4 separate regions of the Homo sapiens genome follow, and all the other regions are linked to region 1. The links are contacts of gene promoters, found by promoter capture Hi-C in blood cells and fetal thymus (Javierre and others, 2016). All regions are on one chromosome and are shown on one strand. The core of a region is centred on a gene start or on the middle of the fragment in contact, and the rest is flanking DNA. Distances in the headings are between cores, read along the strand shown. Region 1 holds the start of FLT1 (fms related receptor tyrosine kinase 1). Region 2 overlaps FLT1 (fms related receptor tyrosine kinase 1). Region 3 overlaps FLT1 (fms related receptor tyrosine kinase 1). Region 4 has its middle 3.4 kb from the start of POMP.

Region 1 (3,558 bases), core at 796-3,295:
GATTGTTTCAGCTGTCCATCAAATACCTGTTCTGGCTTTACAGACACAATGTAGATTCATTGCTGGCAGCAGGTTTGGAAAGTGTTGTCTCTTTATGAGTTAAAAATATCAAAATGGCATTTGAAAAAATGTATTAGCAAATTAAACCTTTGTACATGGTACTATGGACCACTTTCCCCCAGAGTCAAATGTGTGTCTCTCCTGAGAAGCCCTCCTTGGGTTTTCCCTGCCAATAAATGTGCCTTTACTTCTCTGAGCTGATGGAGGACTAAACACCCCTCCAGCACTGGAATGCCGGTCCTGCAGCCACTTCAAGTGTCCACCTTCTTATCACAGTCCAAGCCCTTTAGAAGGCAAAGATGATGGCTCTCCATCAGTGTTTTCAGCCCTAACCCAATGCCTGGCCCCTGTTGAATGCTGCAGAAGGACAATGCTGACAGCTTCTCCTTGAAAGAGGGTGTGGGAGTGACAAGCAGCTCTCAGGTGAGACCAACAGACACTGTGGCTCCGCACGTATGTCCCAGGCTGTGTTCTGGGCTGGGGGACCAGCAAGGAGAAGGATCAGCTGTCCGCTTCCAGCTGTTCTGAGGGATGATGCTGTGGGTTTTAGAGGAGGCAGGGGTGCGGGAGGCAGAGAAAGGCGCCAGGAAGAGTGGTGAGGAGAACTGGAAAAACAGAAAGCGCTGGTGAAGCCAGCAGGCAAGCAATGACTCCGGCAGTCTTCCTTGCCTCTGAAGCAGAAGGGATCCAGGGACAGTTAGTGGCTCAGGTCCTGCGGCTCCAGGTGCCCAGACGTGCATTTCCTGTGTGGAGTGGCCGGGGCCTCTCCTTGGTGTGCAGCCCAGAAATGTGGCAACTTTGGGTTACCCAACCTTCCTAGGCGGGGAGGTAGTCCAGTCCTTCAGGAAGAGTCTCTGGCTCCGTTCAAGAGCCATCACAGTCCCTTGTATTACATCCCTCTGACGGGTTCCAATAGGACTATTTTTCAAATCTGCGGTATTTACAGAGACAAGACTGGGCTGCTCCGTGCAGCCAGGACGACTTCAGCCTTTGAGGTAATGGAGACATAATTGAGGAACAACGTGGAATTAGTGTCATAGCAAATGATCTAGGGCCTCAAGTTAATTTCAGCCGGTTGTGGTCAGAGTCACTCATCTTGAGTAGCAAGCTGCCACCAGAAAGATTTCTTTTTCGAGCATTTAGGGAATAAAGTTCAAGTGCCCTGCGCTTCCAAGTTGCAGGAGCAGTTTCACGCCTCAGCTTTTTAAAGGTATCATAATGTTATTCCTTGTTTTGCTTCTAGGAAGCAGAAGACTGAGGAAATGACTTGGGCGGGTGCATCAATGCGGCCGAAAAAGACACGGACACGCTCCCCTGGGACCTGAGCTGGTTCGCAGTCTTCCCAAAGGTGCCAAGCAAGCGTCAGTTCCCCTCAGGCGCTCCAGGTTCAGTGCCTTGTGCCGAGGGTCTCCGGTGCCTTCCTAGACTTCTCGGGACAGTCTGAAGGGGTCAGGAGCGGCGGGACAGCGCGGGAAGAGCAGGCAAGGGGAGACAGCCGGACTGCGCCTCAGTCCTCCGTGCCAAGAACACCGTCGCGGAGGCGCGGCCAGCTTCCCTTGGATCGGACTTTCCGCCCCTAGGGCCAGGCGGCGGAGCTTCAGCCTTGTCCCTTCCCCAGTTTCGGGCGGCCCCCAGAGCTGAGTAAGCCGGGTGGAGGGAGTCTGCAAGGATTTCCTGAGCGCGATGGGCAGGAGGAGGGGCAAGGGCAAGAGGGCGCGGAGCAAAGACCCTGAACCTGCCGGGGCCGCGCTCCCGGGCCCGCGTCGCCAGCACCTCCCCACGCGCGCTCGGCCCCGGGCCACCCGCCCTCGTCGGCCCCCGCCCCTCTCCGTAGCCGCAGGGAAGCGAGCCTGGGAGGAAGAAGAGGGTAGGTGGGGAGGCGGATGAGGGGTGGGGGACCCCTTGACGTCACCAGAAGGAGGTGCCGGGGTAGGAAGTGGGCTGGGGAAAGGTTATAAATCGCCCCCGCCCTCGGCTGCTCTTCATCGAGGTCCGCGGGAGGCTCGGAGCGCGCCAGGCGGACACTCCTCTCGGCTCCTCCCCGGCAGCGGCGGCGGCTCGGAGCGGGCTCCGGGGCTCGGGTGCAGCGGCCAGCGGGCGCCTGGCGGCGAGGATTACCCGGGGAAGTGGTTGTCTCCTGGCTGGAGCCGCGAGACGGGCGCTCAGGGCGCGGGGCCGGCGGCGGCGAACGAGAGGACGGACTCTGGCGGCCGGGTCGTTGGCCGCGGGGAGCGCGGGCACCGGGCGAGCAGGCCGCGTCGCGCTCACCATGGTCAGCTACTGGGACACCGGGGTCCTGCTGTGCGCGCTGCTCAGCTGTCTGCTTCTCACAGGTGAGGCGCGGCTGGGGGCCGGGGCCTGAGGCGGGCTGCGATGGGGCGGCCGGAGGGCAGAGCCTCCGAGGCCAGGGCGGGGTGCACGCGGGGAGACGAGGCTGTAGCCCGGAGAAGCTGGCTACGGCGAGAACCTGGGACACTAGTTGCAGCGGGCACGCTTGGGGCCGCTGCGCCCTTTCTCCGAGGGAGCGCCTCGAGGAGTGGCTGGCCTGGACCCGCGAGCATCAGCGCTCAGACCGGGTCCGCGCTGGGGCTGTCCGTTTGCGACAGGATCGCTGATCCCTTATCCAGCTGTCGGGTTGGGGTCTCACTGCCGAGGCCCTGGGCACTAGGAGCAGCACGCACCGGGACCTGCCTGGCACCCAGAGCCCATTCCCAGAGGACCTGGGGCAGGTACGCAGGGTCCCCCGGAGCCGGGAGCAGAGGCTCCTGAAAGCCTGCCAGGCTGCCCGGGGCTGGGCTGAGGCCGGGACTTTGGTGATATTGGGCACTGGCCGCGACCTCGCGTCACGAGAGTGTAGGAGGGGAGCCGATTTGGAGGGGACTCGTGCCTGCGGGGGAGCAGGAGGATCTCAGGAGAGGGCCAGCGCCGGCATCCCATGACCCGCTTGAGTCCCCAAGCCGGACTGTCCCGGGGAACGCTCGGCGAGCGCCCGCTCCTCCCCGCCGCTCTCGGACCGCGGGGCCCCAGTGCGCTGCGCTCAGCCACCCGGGTGGGGCCTCTGCCGGGAGCAGGCGTGGTGCGCGGTCCAGTCCGTGTCGCGGACATCAGTGACCCTGACCCACAAGGGCAGCCCAGGGCCCAAATACCGTTAACTTACTGACTTACAAGCCTAGCCTTTAAAATCCGAGCGAAGAGAGGGCGGGCGATTTTGACCAAACGATGTGGTTTGAGGAATCGATGAGGTCCGCCCGCCACCTAAGTCAGCCTTCGCTGGGCGTTTGGGAGACGGGCGGTGGAACAGTCAGGGGCCGGGGGTTTTACCAGCAGTTAGACCGCCGCCATTGAGGGGTCAAAGCCCCGAGGAACTTGAGGGTTCGGACTCGCAGTCTCTGCTCAGTGGGGCTGAGTGGCGGAGATTTGTGCCTCGTTCCCCTGGGCGCAGAGAGCCAGATTTCGGAGCGCCTTTCTTTTAAGCATCGTGGAGAAAAGGTAAAATAT
Region 2 (3,380 bases), core at 732-3,231, 190 kb after region 1:
GGATCAACAGATGTATCCCAGGATCATCCCTCAGGCTCAGCATGGACCCCCGCTGGGCCAGGCAAGAGTATAACCTTTCTCCTTCTCCCCCTAGGACTACCAGGGCGACAGCAGCACTCTGTTGGCCTCTCCCATGCTGAAGCGCTTCACCTGGACTGACAGCAAACCCAAGGCCTCGCTCAAGATTGAGTAAGAATTGGGTATCTTTTCTGTGATCAGTTGATGGAGGGGTACGAGGGGAGATGCTGGGGGAAGGTGGTATAATGAGGGATGTTTGAGGACTACTTGCCCTCCTGAACTGTGGTATCCGGGAGTTGCAGAAAACCATTTCCCCCCAGAGGGCAAAAAAAGGGGAACATCAAACGGGACATATGAGCAGCAAGCTCTGGGGAAAACATGCAGAAAATCTTGCAAAGACAGGCAGTCCAGATGTGGCCAGCACAGTGCCTCAGGTGAAAGAAGCCTGATGTGCCCACCTATGCGTGGTGCAGACAGAGACACGCTCCCGGCGGTGGGAGAGGATGCCCCCGCTGTCACTCCCTATGCCGGCAGGGTTCATACACGAGGAGACACAGTACTGTTTTCCGGGGCTAAGACCTGTACCCTGAGAGCTCAGCCCCTACAGATGAATGACTTTCCCATTTCATCCTGGCACCCTTTTCTCACTTGACAATTTCTCCACAAAGCCCTGGCTTGTAGTCCACCAGCTCCTCCCTCCACGCCGTGGCCACCACTGGGGAGTCCTTGCCTTATGCACCACCGAATGCCACTGCAGCTTCTCTGTGCGAGTCTCTACCTTGCAATGGTGCTGGACTGGGAAAAGCTGCACCTGTCGGATGTTCCTTCCTTTCCTCATTCAAATGCCTGTCCCTGTCTCACCCGAAGGCAGAACCTTTTCCTCTTTCACCTAAATCCGGGGTAGGCAGCCATTTTTTTAAAGGGCTAGATAGTCAGCAAATGCTCCCTACTGCCATTAGCAGGGGTGTCCAATCTTTTGACTTCCCTGGGCCACAATGGAAGAATAATTATCTTGGGTCACACATGAAATACACGGACACTGACAATCGCTGGTAAGCTAAAAAAGTTGCAAAAAAATCTCAGAATGTTTTAAGAAAGTTTACGAGTTTGTGTTGGGCTGCACTCAAAGCCATCCTGGGATTCATGCAGCCCGTGGGCCACAAGTTGGGCAAGCTTGCATTATAGTATAAAAAGCAACCGTAGACAATACATCATCAAGTAGGCATGGCTCTGTTCCCACACACTGTATTTACAGAAACAGGTGGGCATGGCCAGTGAGTACACGAAAAGATGCTCAACATCATCAGTCATTAGGGAAATACAAATCAAGACTACCATGAGGGGCTGGGTGTGGTGGCTCATGCAGTAGTCTCAACACTTTGGGAGGCTGAGGTGGGTGGATCACTTGAGCCCGGGAGCAACATGGCAAAACCCTTTCTCTACTAAAACTACAGAAATTAGCCGGGGTGTGCTGGCATGTGCCTGTAGTCCCAGCTACTTGGGAGGCTGGGGTGGGAGGATCACTTGAGCTTGGGAGGTTGAGGCTGCAGTGAGCCACAATTGCACCACTACACTCTAGCCTGGGTGACAGAGGGAGAAAAAAGGGAAAGAAATTACCATAAGATACCACTTTACGCCCATGAGGATAGCTAGATGAAGTCAGTGTGGCGAGGATATGGAGAAATTGGAACCCTCATACACTGCTGGTGGAAATGTAAAATGGGGCAGTCACTTTGGAAAACAGTTTAGCTGTTGCCCATAAGGTTAAACAGTTATCCCGAGACTCAGCAATTCAACTCCTAGGCATATACTCAAGAGAAATGAAAACTGATGTCCACAGCAAAACTTGCACACAGATGTTCATAGCAGCATTATTCATGATAGCCAAAAGTAGAAACAACCTAAATATCCATCAGTTGATGACTCAATGAATAAAGTATGGTATATCCACACAATATAATATTGTCAATAAAAAGTGTGAAGTATGCATGCATGCTACAATATGGATGAACCTTGAAAATATTATGCTAAGTAAAAGAAGCCAGTCATAAAATATTTCCTATTGCATGATTCCTTTTACATGAAATGCCCAGAATTGGTAAATCTAGAGACAGAAAGTAGACCAGTAGTTTCCTTGGGCTGGGGCTGGAGGGCGTGAGGAAGAAAGACTGCTAACAGGTGTGCGTTTTGGGGGATGATGACAACGCTCTAAAGTTGATTATGGTGATGGTTGCACAATTTGTGTCTATACAAAAAACCATTGGCTTACACATTTTAAATAGGCGAATTATGCACTATGTAAATTATATCTCCATAAAGCTCTCATTAAAAAAAAAAACACCAGACAGGTGGGCAGATATGGGTTATAGTTTTTGAACCCTGATCTAAATCAAAGGATGGCAACAAGTGCCTCCAAGTGATGTAGTTAGCACAACTCATCGGCCACAAGTAAATGGGAAAGACAGGGGCATTTCCAGGCAAACATCTGCGTGTGTGTTTCCTTTTCACATGAGCACAGTGGTATTAGAATTGAGTTACAGTAGATCAGAGGCACCAATGAGGAATGAATGGATCAAAGGGGAAGGTAGGATACTTGCTCTTTTGTTTCCTACTTTGGAACACTTCAGAAAATGGGTGGTGACTAATTTTATCTAGATATTTGTTAAAGAAGACCATAAATTGTATCCTCTACTCTGAGACTGAAAATATAGAACATGGACACGTTAGTCCAGACCGGTCTAAAACAAGCTTCACGGGTTCCCTGCCTCATCCCAGATCCTTTGAAAATAAAAAATTTGAACGAATATTAAAGGGCAAGAGCAGCGCTTCTTCCTCAGGTGTCTGTCCTAGTCTGGATGTAACACAGAGGACCCAGAAGCAAGTTTCTCCACCCTTGAGCCTTGCTGGTGATAAGCAGCACCGTGACTAAAACGTTTCCTCTTCTAGAACACAGGCACGACAGGCAGAGAGGCACTCACTTGTGTGTGTGGAGCTTTATTGTTTTTTGAGACTGTTGTAACAAGTTACCACTAACTTGGCAACTTACAAGAGAAATTTATTCTCTTGCAGTTCTGGAGGCCAGAAGGGATATAAAATATGAAAAATTTGAATATTTTGGAGGGTAGGAGGCATTTCTCAGCCTACCACAGAAGCTGTTTGACCCAAGAATAGGAGAGGGCTGCACCCAAGTCTTGGAGTTACTTTCCACCTGGATTATGGATTTGCGTTATCTTATCATACATTTCATACCCTCCCCCAGCCACTGTCTTTCTGCCCAATGACACCAAGCTGTTAAGAGGGAGGCCGTGTGCAGCTTTAGAACAGAGGAAATCTGACAGCAATTGAGGGGGGGGGGGTTCCAA
Region 3 (3,301 bases), core at 395-2,894, 130 kb after region 1:
GCCACTTGTACTATATCTTATACTTCTCAAAGCTTCAATGCTTCCATTTAAGCTATCTCAATTGATCATGAAATAGGTGGAGCAGGTATTATTCTCATTTTACAGGTAAGGAACTTGCCCCAAAAAGATTAAGTGACTTAGCCAAGGTTATGGGGAAGAGCTGTCATTTTTTCCCTGTTATCTGGGTTTAAAATATTGGAATCACCTTGGACTCATCTCTCTCTTTTTCTATTGCTGTATCCAGTAAAGCACCAATTCCTATAGGTTGTTTCTACAAAGTATCTGTTTCCATTTCTTCCTCTCTACTTCCTTTCCCACCATCCAGATTTGAGACCTCATCATTCCTTGCCTGAATTACAACTGATGAGCAGGACTTGCAGATGCTATGCTTTCCTCATTCCAGTCCAGCTGTATTCTCCTTCTAGACTGAACGTCCTTAAATGTCGCTTTCACTATGCTCAAAAATCTTTGTGATTCTCTTTCCTTCTACATGGAATTGAAACTCCTCAACCAAGATTTCAAAGCTCTCCTTAATCTGAATTCACCTTTTCCAGTCACCTACTCAAAACAGGTCTTTTGAAATAAAAATGGCTAATACACACATGAAAAAATGTTCAAAGAAATACAAATTAAAACAATCATTTTCATCTATCAAATCAGCAAAGTTTTGTGTTTTTAATTTTTTAGACGATACTGCTCATCCTCCACTCTTGCTATTTATTTCCTTTCTTACAAAAATAAGCAAGTTATTACCCTTATAATTTGTCTCCATCCCTCAGATCTTTTGTTCATACTTAATTCATTGTTGTCTCCTCTGGTTTCTCTAATACCTTAATCTGTTGATACTCACTTTGTAATTCTCCAAAACTAGAATTTGTAGGCAAGGATTTCTTCTGCTTGATAGTGTATCACCAGTATCTAGAATAGTGTCTAGTACGTAGTAGGAGCTCAAAAAATATTTGTTATATAAATGAACAAACTGTGTTTTCAGAAAGTACACTTTAGAAAGACTAAAGAAACAACATCTGGGAGGTGAGATTGTAGGTGTTTGGAGTTTGTGTGTTTTTTACATTTCTTTTTTTTTTGTTTTTTGAGATGGAGTCTTGCTCTGTCACCCAGGCTGGAGTGCAGGGGCACCATCTTGGCTCACTCCAAGCTCTGCCTCCCGGCTTCAAGCAATTCTTCTGCCTCAGCCTCCCGAGTAGCTGGGACTACCGGCATGAGCCACCACGCCCGGCTAATTTTTGTATTTTTAGTAGAGACGGGGTGTCACCATATTGGATAGGCTGGTCTCGAATTCCTAGACCTCATGATCCACCCACCTCGGCCTCCCACAAGTGCTGGGATTACAGGCATGAGCCACCGTGCCCGGCCTTTTCCATTTCTTTAATTGGCAAATAATAATAATTATATATATGCATGGGGTACAGTGTGATGTTTTAATATTAATACATGTATACAATGGGAAGGATCAAATAAGCCTGATTAGCATACCCATCAGCTCAAATATCATTTCTTTGTGGTGGGAACACTTAAAATCCTCTTTTAGCTATTTTGAAATGTGCATTATTTTTAGCTGTTGTCACTTTGCTGTGTAATAGAATGCCAGAACATATTCCTCTTATCTAACTGTAACTTTGTACCCAGTGACCAATATCTTCCCTGTCCGTATCCAACTCTCCCCACCCCAGCCTGTGGTAACCATCACTCTACTCTCTACATCTATGAGTTCAACTTTTTTAGATTCCACATATAAGTGAAATCATGCAGCATTTGTCTCTCAGTGCCTGGCTTATTTCGCTCAACATAATGTCCTCTAGGTTCATCCATATTGTCATAAATGACAGAATTTCCTGTTATTTTTTAAGGCTGTAGTATTCCATTGTATATATACACCAAATTTTAAAAATCTATTCATCCATTGATGGACACATAGGTTGCCTCCATATCTTGGCTATTGTGAATAATGCTGCAATAAACATGGGAATGCAGACATCTCTTCAGCATCCTTGATTTCAATTTCTTTGGGTAGATACCCAGTAGTGGGATTGCTAGATCATATAGCAGTTTTCTTTTTAGTTGTTTGAGAGGCTCCATATGGTTTTCCAAAATGGCCGTAACAATTTATAATGCCACCAACCGTGTATAAGGGTTCCCTTCTTTCCACATCCTCATCAACACTTGTGATCTTTTATCTTTTTAATAATAGCTAATCTAATAGGTGTGAGGTGCTATCTCATTTGGTTTTTTTCTTGTTTTTTGAGACAAAGTCTCGCTCTGTCACCCAGGCCGGAGTGCAGTGGCACGATCTCGCTCACTGCAACCTCTGCCTCCCCAGTTCAAGTGATTCTCCTGCTGCAGCCTCCCAAGTAGTTAGGATTACAGGCATTCGCCACCACACCCCGCTAATTTTTGTATTTTTAGTAGAGACTGGGTTTCATCATGTTGGCGAGGCTGGTCTTGAACTCTTGACCTCAGATGATCTGCCCACCTCGGCCTCCCAAAGTGCTGGGATTACAGGCATGAGCCACTGCACCTGGCCTCATTTGGTTTTGATTTACATTTTTGTGATTGGAGATGGTGAGTATTTTTTTCATATAACTGTTGGCCATCTGTCTTCTTTTGAAAAATGTCTATTTGATTTCTTTGCCCATTTTTAAATAGGATTATTGGTTTCCTTGTTATTGAGTAGTTTGAGTTCCTTGTATATTTTGGATATTGGCTCCTTATCTGATGTATGATTTGCAAATACTTTTTCCCAATCTGTAGGTTGTCTCTTCACTCTATTAATTGTTTCCTTTGCTGTGCAAAAGGTTTTTAGTTTGATGCAATCCCATTTGCCTATTTTTGCTTTCGTTGCCTGTGCTTTTGGGGTCATATCCAAGAAATCTCTTCCCAGACCAATATCGTGGAGTTTTTCCCCCACATTTTCTTCTAGTAGTTTTATAGTTTCTGGTCTTACATTTAAGTTTTTAATCCATATTGAGTTCATTTTTATATAAGGGATGAGAGAAGGGTCCATTTTCATTTTTCTGTATGTAGATATCCAGTTTTCCCAACACCACTTATTAAGGAGACTGTCCTTTCCCCATTGTGTGTTCTTGGCACCTTGTCAAAAATCAGTTGACCATAGATGTTTGGGTTGATTTCTGGGCCCTTGCCTATTCCATTGGTTGATGGATCTGTTTTTATAACAGTACCATGCTGTTTTGATTATCATAGCTTTATAATATTACATTTTCTTTTTTTAAGCTTTCAAATATTTCTCAACTTTTCTATATTGAGTACATCTTTCATAAGA
Region 4 (3,489 bases), core at 127-2,626, 160 kb before region 1:
GATATTTAAAATGCAGCATGGGCTGGGTGCAGTGGCTCACACCTGTAATCCTAGCACTTTGGGAGCTGGAAGCAGGCAGATCACTTGAGGTCAGTAGTTCGACACCAGCCTGGCCAACATGGCAAAAGCCCATCTCTACTAAAGATACAAAAAAAAAAATTAGCCAGACATCATGGTGCATGCTTGTAGTCCCAGCTATTCAGGAGACTGAGGCACGAGAGTCGCTTGAACCTGAGAGGTAGAGGTTGCAGTGAGCAGAGATCACGCCACTGCACTCCAGCCTAGGTGACACAGCAAGACTCCATCTCAAATAATAATAATAAAATAATAAAATGCAGTGTGATAAATGCTTGATAGAGAAAGGGGCTAAACCAGAAAGTTGTTGGGAGCAGGAGAAAACAGCATTCACGGAAGAGGAACATGTAAAGGCAAGAGATCTGTGAAAAGTCGTGTTGTTATCTGAGTAATGGAAAACATTTCCCTGTGGCTGGAGCTCTGGGTGAGCAGGTGAAGCAAAATGAGATGAGGTTGGAGGGACAGGTTGGGGCCAAAACGAAGGGCCTTCTATGGTATGCTGAGGTTTAGGGCTTTTTCTTATAGACAACAGGAGATAATGGAGGTCTTTTCACAAACATTTGGCATTAAAAAAAAAAAATTCTGGTGGCAGCATGAAGGACAGACTAAGATTGGGAGAAAGTAGGAACCAGGATACCATTTAAGCCACTAATGGTACGCTAAGGTAGTGTCACATACTGGAAAGGCTTTGAAAGGAAGGAAAAAGTAGGAGTGAACCTAAGAAATACCAGAATTCAAAAGACAGCCAGAAGAAGGGGAGCCTGCTTTAAAGGCTATGCCATCTTCGAATCAAAAGGGCAAGGAAGTATTGAGAGGTTAGAAAGTAGTTCAAAAGTAGCTAAAAAGGGATCATAAAGCCCTGAAAATAGGCTTTTGGTGACCAGTGTGAAGAGTTGTTTTAGTGGCTCAGCAAGGAGAAAATTCCCTTTATTTTGAGTCTTACACTCAAGTTTATGTCCTATTTTAAATGGTTTGTTACAGTATTAACTAATACGGGGTACTTTTGAGTATGCTAAATAAGAAGTAAATTAGATTTGATGCTGGAATGATTTAATTATGTTTACTTAAGCTTTATGTTAAATAGCTTAGAGGATAGAACATTAGTAATGATAGCTAACATTTGTTACATGTCAGGCCAGGGTTTAGTTTTTTGCATATATTGTTTCAATTAATCCTGTGAGGTAGATACTATCATTATGCACATTTCACAGAAAATGCTGAGGCATTGTATGAGAACAAGCACCCTATTTTGTTTTACTTTTTGTAGTCGTCTTTGACTTTACTCTTAAGTCAGTCTGGTGACATAGCTAGGTAAACTGAGGACAAATTCAGCTTCATTCACATCTGGCAAGAACCCTCCTCCCTCCTCCTAGCTCTTTCCCCATTTGTTACCTCATCTGTCTCCTGTTTGGGTACTATTCTTGTACTTCATCTTGTCAGCTGAATTTGGGTCTTCTGACCTAAATTTTAGTGCTCCCTAACGATCTAAAATTACACTTAACTTTGCTCTTTTCTGTTATTTGCCTAAGCTTGGCCCTGGGCACCCAAACCCTATTACCCAGCCTGCTTGGTTAGCCCCCTCTTAAAAGCTGCTTTGTCTCCACAGCACAGTGCCTTGCATACTTTAGGCAGGTACTCAGCAGGATTTTGAAATCTAGTATGTAGTGAGTGTCTCTTTAGAACTTAAGAAGCTGGAAGAGGCATAGAGAAGAGAGGTCTGAAAATGTCTCAGAGCTAAGGAAGATACGATGTTGAGATAAGGGAATGACCAGTGATGTCAGATAATGATTATGGGAAGATCGATGGGGTTTGGCAAATGGGATGTCATTTGCATAATCTTCTGGTGAGCAGTTTAACTATAAACCAGATTGTTAGGAATGAAGAATTTATAAGAAGAAAATGGAGGCAGCCAAATTTTATAGATCATTCTTTTCAGAAAGTTGTCCATTTCAAAAAATAGAATCAGGATTTTGGTTTGAATGAAAGTTGGGTTTTGTTTTTGTTTCATGTGCATGATTGGACAGACCAAAGTTTGTTAGGCAGATGTTAGAAAGAGTTGGTGAAGGGGCAAGAGTGAAGACAGCAGGGAAGAGAAGCAGCAAGAAGGAATGATTGAGATAATGATCTCTCAGATGCCCAGAACAGTTGTGAGAGGGAATCAAGGACAAAGATGCAGCTGTTAGAAAAAGGAGGCAGGCCCAGGCGCAGAGACTCACTCCTGTAATCCTAGCACTTTGGGAGGCTGAGGCAGGTGGATCACCTGAGGTCAGGAGTTCAAGACCAGCCTGGCCAACATGGTGAAACCCTGTGTCTACTAAAAATATAAAATTAGCTGGGCATGGTGGTGCACGCCTGTAATCCCAGCTACTCGGGAGGCTGAGGCAGGAGAATCACTTGAACCCAGGAGGTGGAGGTTGCAGTGAGCCGAGATGGTGCCACTGCACTCCAGCCTGGGCGACAGAGCGAGACCCTGTCTCAAAAAAAAAAAAAAAAAAAAAAAAAATTATGCTTCCCTACAAGGCTAGGGGTGGAGGAGTAGTTCATATAAGGGTAGTGGTATTATACAAATCTTAAACAATAAGAAAATTACTAGGTTTTCGAGGGCCTGAAAAGAATCTATAAGTTATAAAAAATATATCCAGATCTTCTTTAAATGATTTAAATTCTTACAGTGTTGGGAAGGGTTCAATATGCATAATTTAGGATAAGTCATATTTACAAATCTTCTCTGCAAGCCCCTTCCTATGTGTTAAGAGATGGAGAAATATCAAGTTCATTTGACCCTTTAACCCTAAGAGATGAGTGTTTCATATTTTGAAATATTTTACTAGCTATAATTTCAGATGCAGCTGCTTTTAAAAGAGTGTCTGCTGATTATGAAAAGCTGGGTTTTGAGAATAAGTACTAGAGTAGACTATTTGGAATCCAGGAGTTTTATTTTACTACTTTACATCTGCATTGCATCAGACATGGCGCAAGTTAGCATTCCATTTTTCATGCTTTTGTAGCCCTATTTTAGGTCTGTCTGTGCTCAGAATTGGTTTATATTTTCACCATAATCTATTCATTTGCCTGCACAGCATACAGCTGATAGATTATATGCAATGAGTTTTAAATTCTACACCTATTTCTTTTACTATAGCCTTCTCCCATCATTTGCCAGCCCACATGTGGGAGCATGGAGTAATTTTAATATTAGCCAAATAAAAATTTAATTCAGAAAGCATATCTGCCAAAAGTATCATGTGCAGAGCCTCACAAAGCCTAATATATACATGTATACATGATGGTTTCAATTCCATTATATTTTTGGATAGTGTCAGTATTCCCCTCCACTGGCATGAATAATTAGTGGGAATATCTGTATTTTGAAAATTCAAAAATTTATTCCCTGAAGATACAGACTTGAGGAAA

What was found. The method cuts DNA at HindIII sites, captures the fragments that hold promoters and counts their contacts. A CHiCAGO score of 5 or more calls a contact.
Region 2: a fragment that was not itself captured here is called in contact with the fragment with the promoter of FLT1 in region 1 in 2 of 17 cell types (endothelial precursors and M1 macrophages); the score reaches 5.7 in endothelial precursors.
Region 3: a fragment that was not itself captured here is called in contact with the fragment with the promoter of FLT1 in region 1 in 1 of 17 cell types (monocytes); the score reaches 8.0 in monocytes.
Region 4: a fragment that was not itself captured here is called in contact with the fragment with the promoter of FLT1 in region 1 in 4 of 17 cell types (M2 macrophages, M0 macrophages, M1 macrophages and 1 more); the score reaches 9.6 in M2 macrophages.

The regions. Positions count from the first base shown.
Region 1 is chr13:28,493,615-28,497,172 of GRCh38, reverse strand. FLT1 (fms related receptor tyrosine kinase 1) reads left to right here and starts at 2,045. Exons shown (of 30, transcript NM_002019.4): 1 at 2,045-2,393. The coding sequence starts at 2,330. RefSeq lists silencers at 2,140-2,189, 2,310-2,429, 2,510-2,559. The HindIII fragment of the contact is 4,512 bases long and covers 1-3,558 here.
Region 2 is chr13:28,303,487-28,306,866 of GRCh38, reverse strand. It overlaps FLT1 (fms related receptor tyrosine kinase 1), which reads left to right. Exons shown (of 30, transcript NM_002019.4): 29 at 95-189. Among named protein-coding and RNA genes, the nearest start is that of PAN3-AS1, 170 kb to the right of the region's middle. The HindIII fragment of the contact is 1,575 bases long and covers 1,194-2,768 here.
Region 3 is chr13:28,359,070-28,362,370 of GRCh38, reverse strand. The region is part of intron 14 of FLT1 (fms related receptor tyrosine kinase 1); the gene reads left to right. Among named protein-coding and RNA genes, the nearest start is that of FLT1, 130 kb to the left of the region's middle. The HindIII fragment of the contact is 3,220 bases long and covers 35-3,254 here.
Region 4 is chr13:28,653,976-28,657,464 of GRCh38, reverse strand. No RefSeq gene overlaps it. Among named protein-coding and RNA genes, the nearest start is that of POMP, 3.4 kb to the left of the region's middle. The HindIII fragment of the contact is 460 bases long and covers 1,147-1,606 here.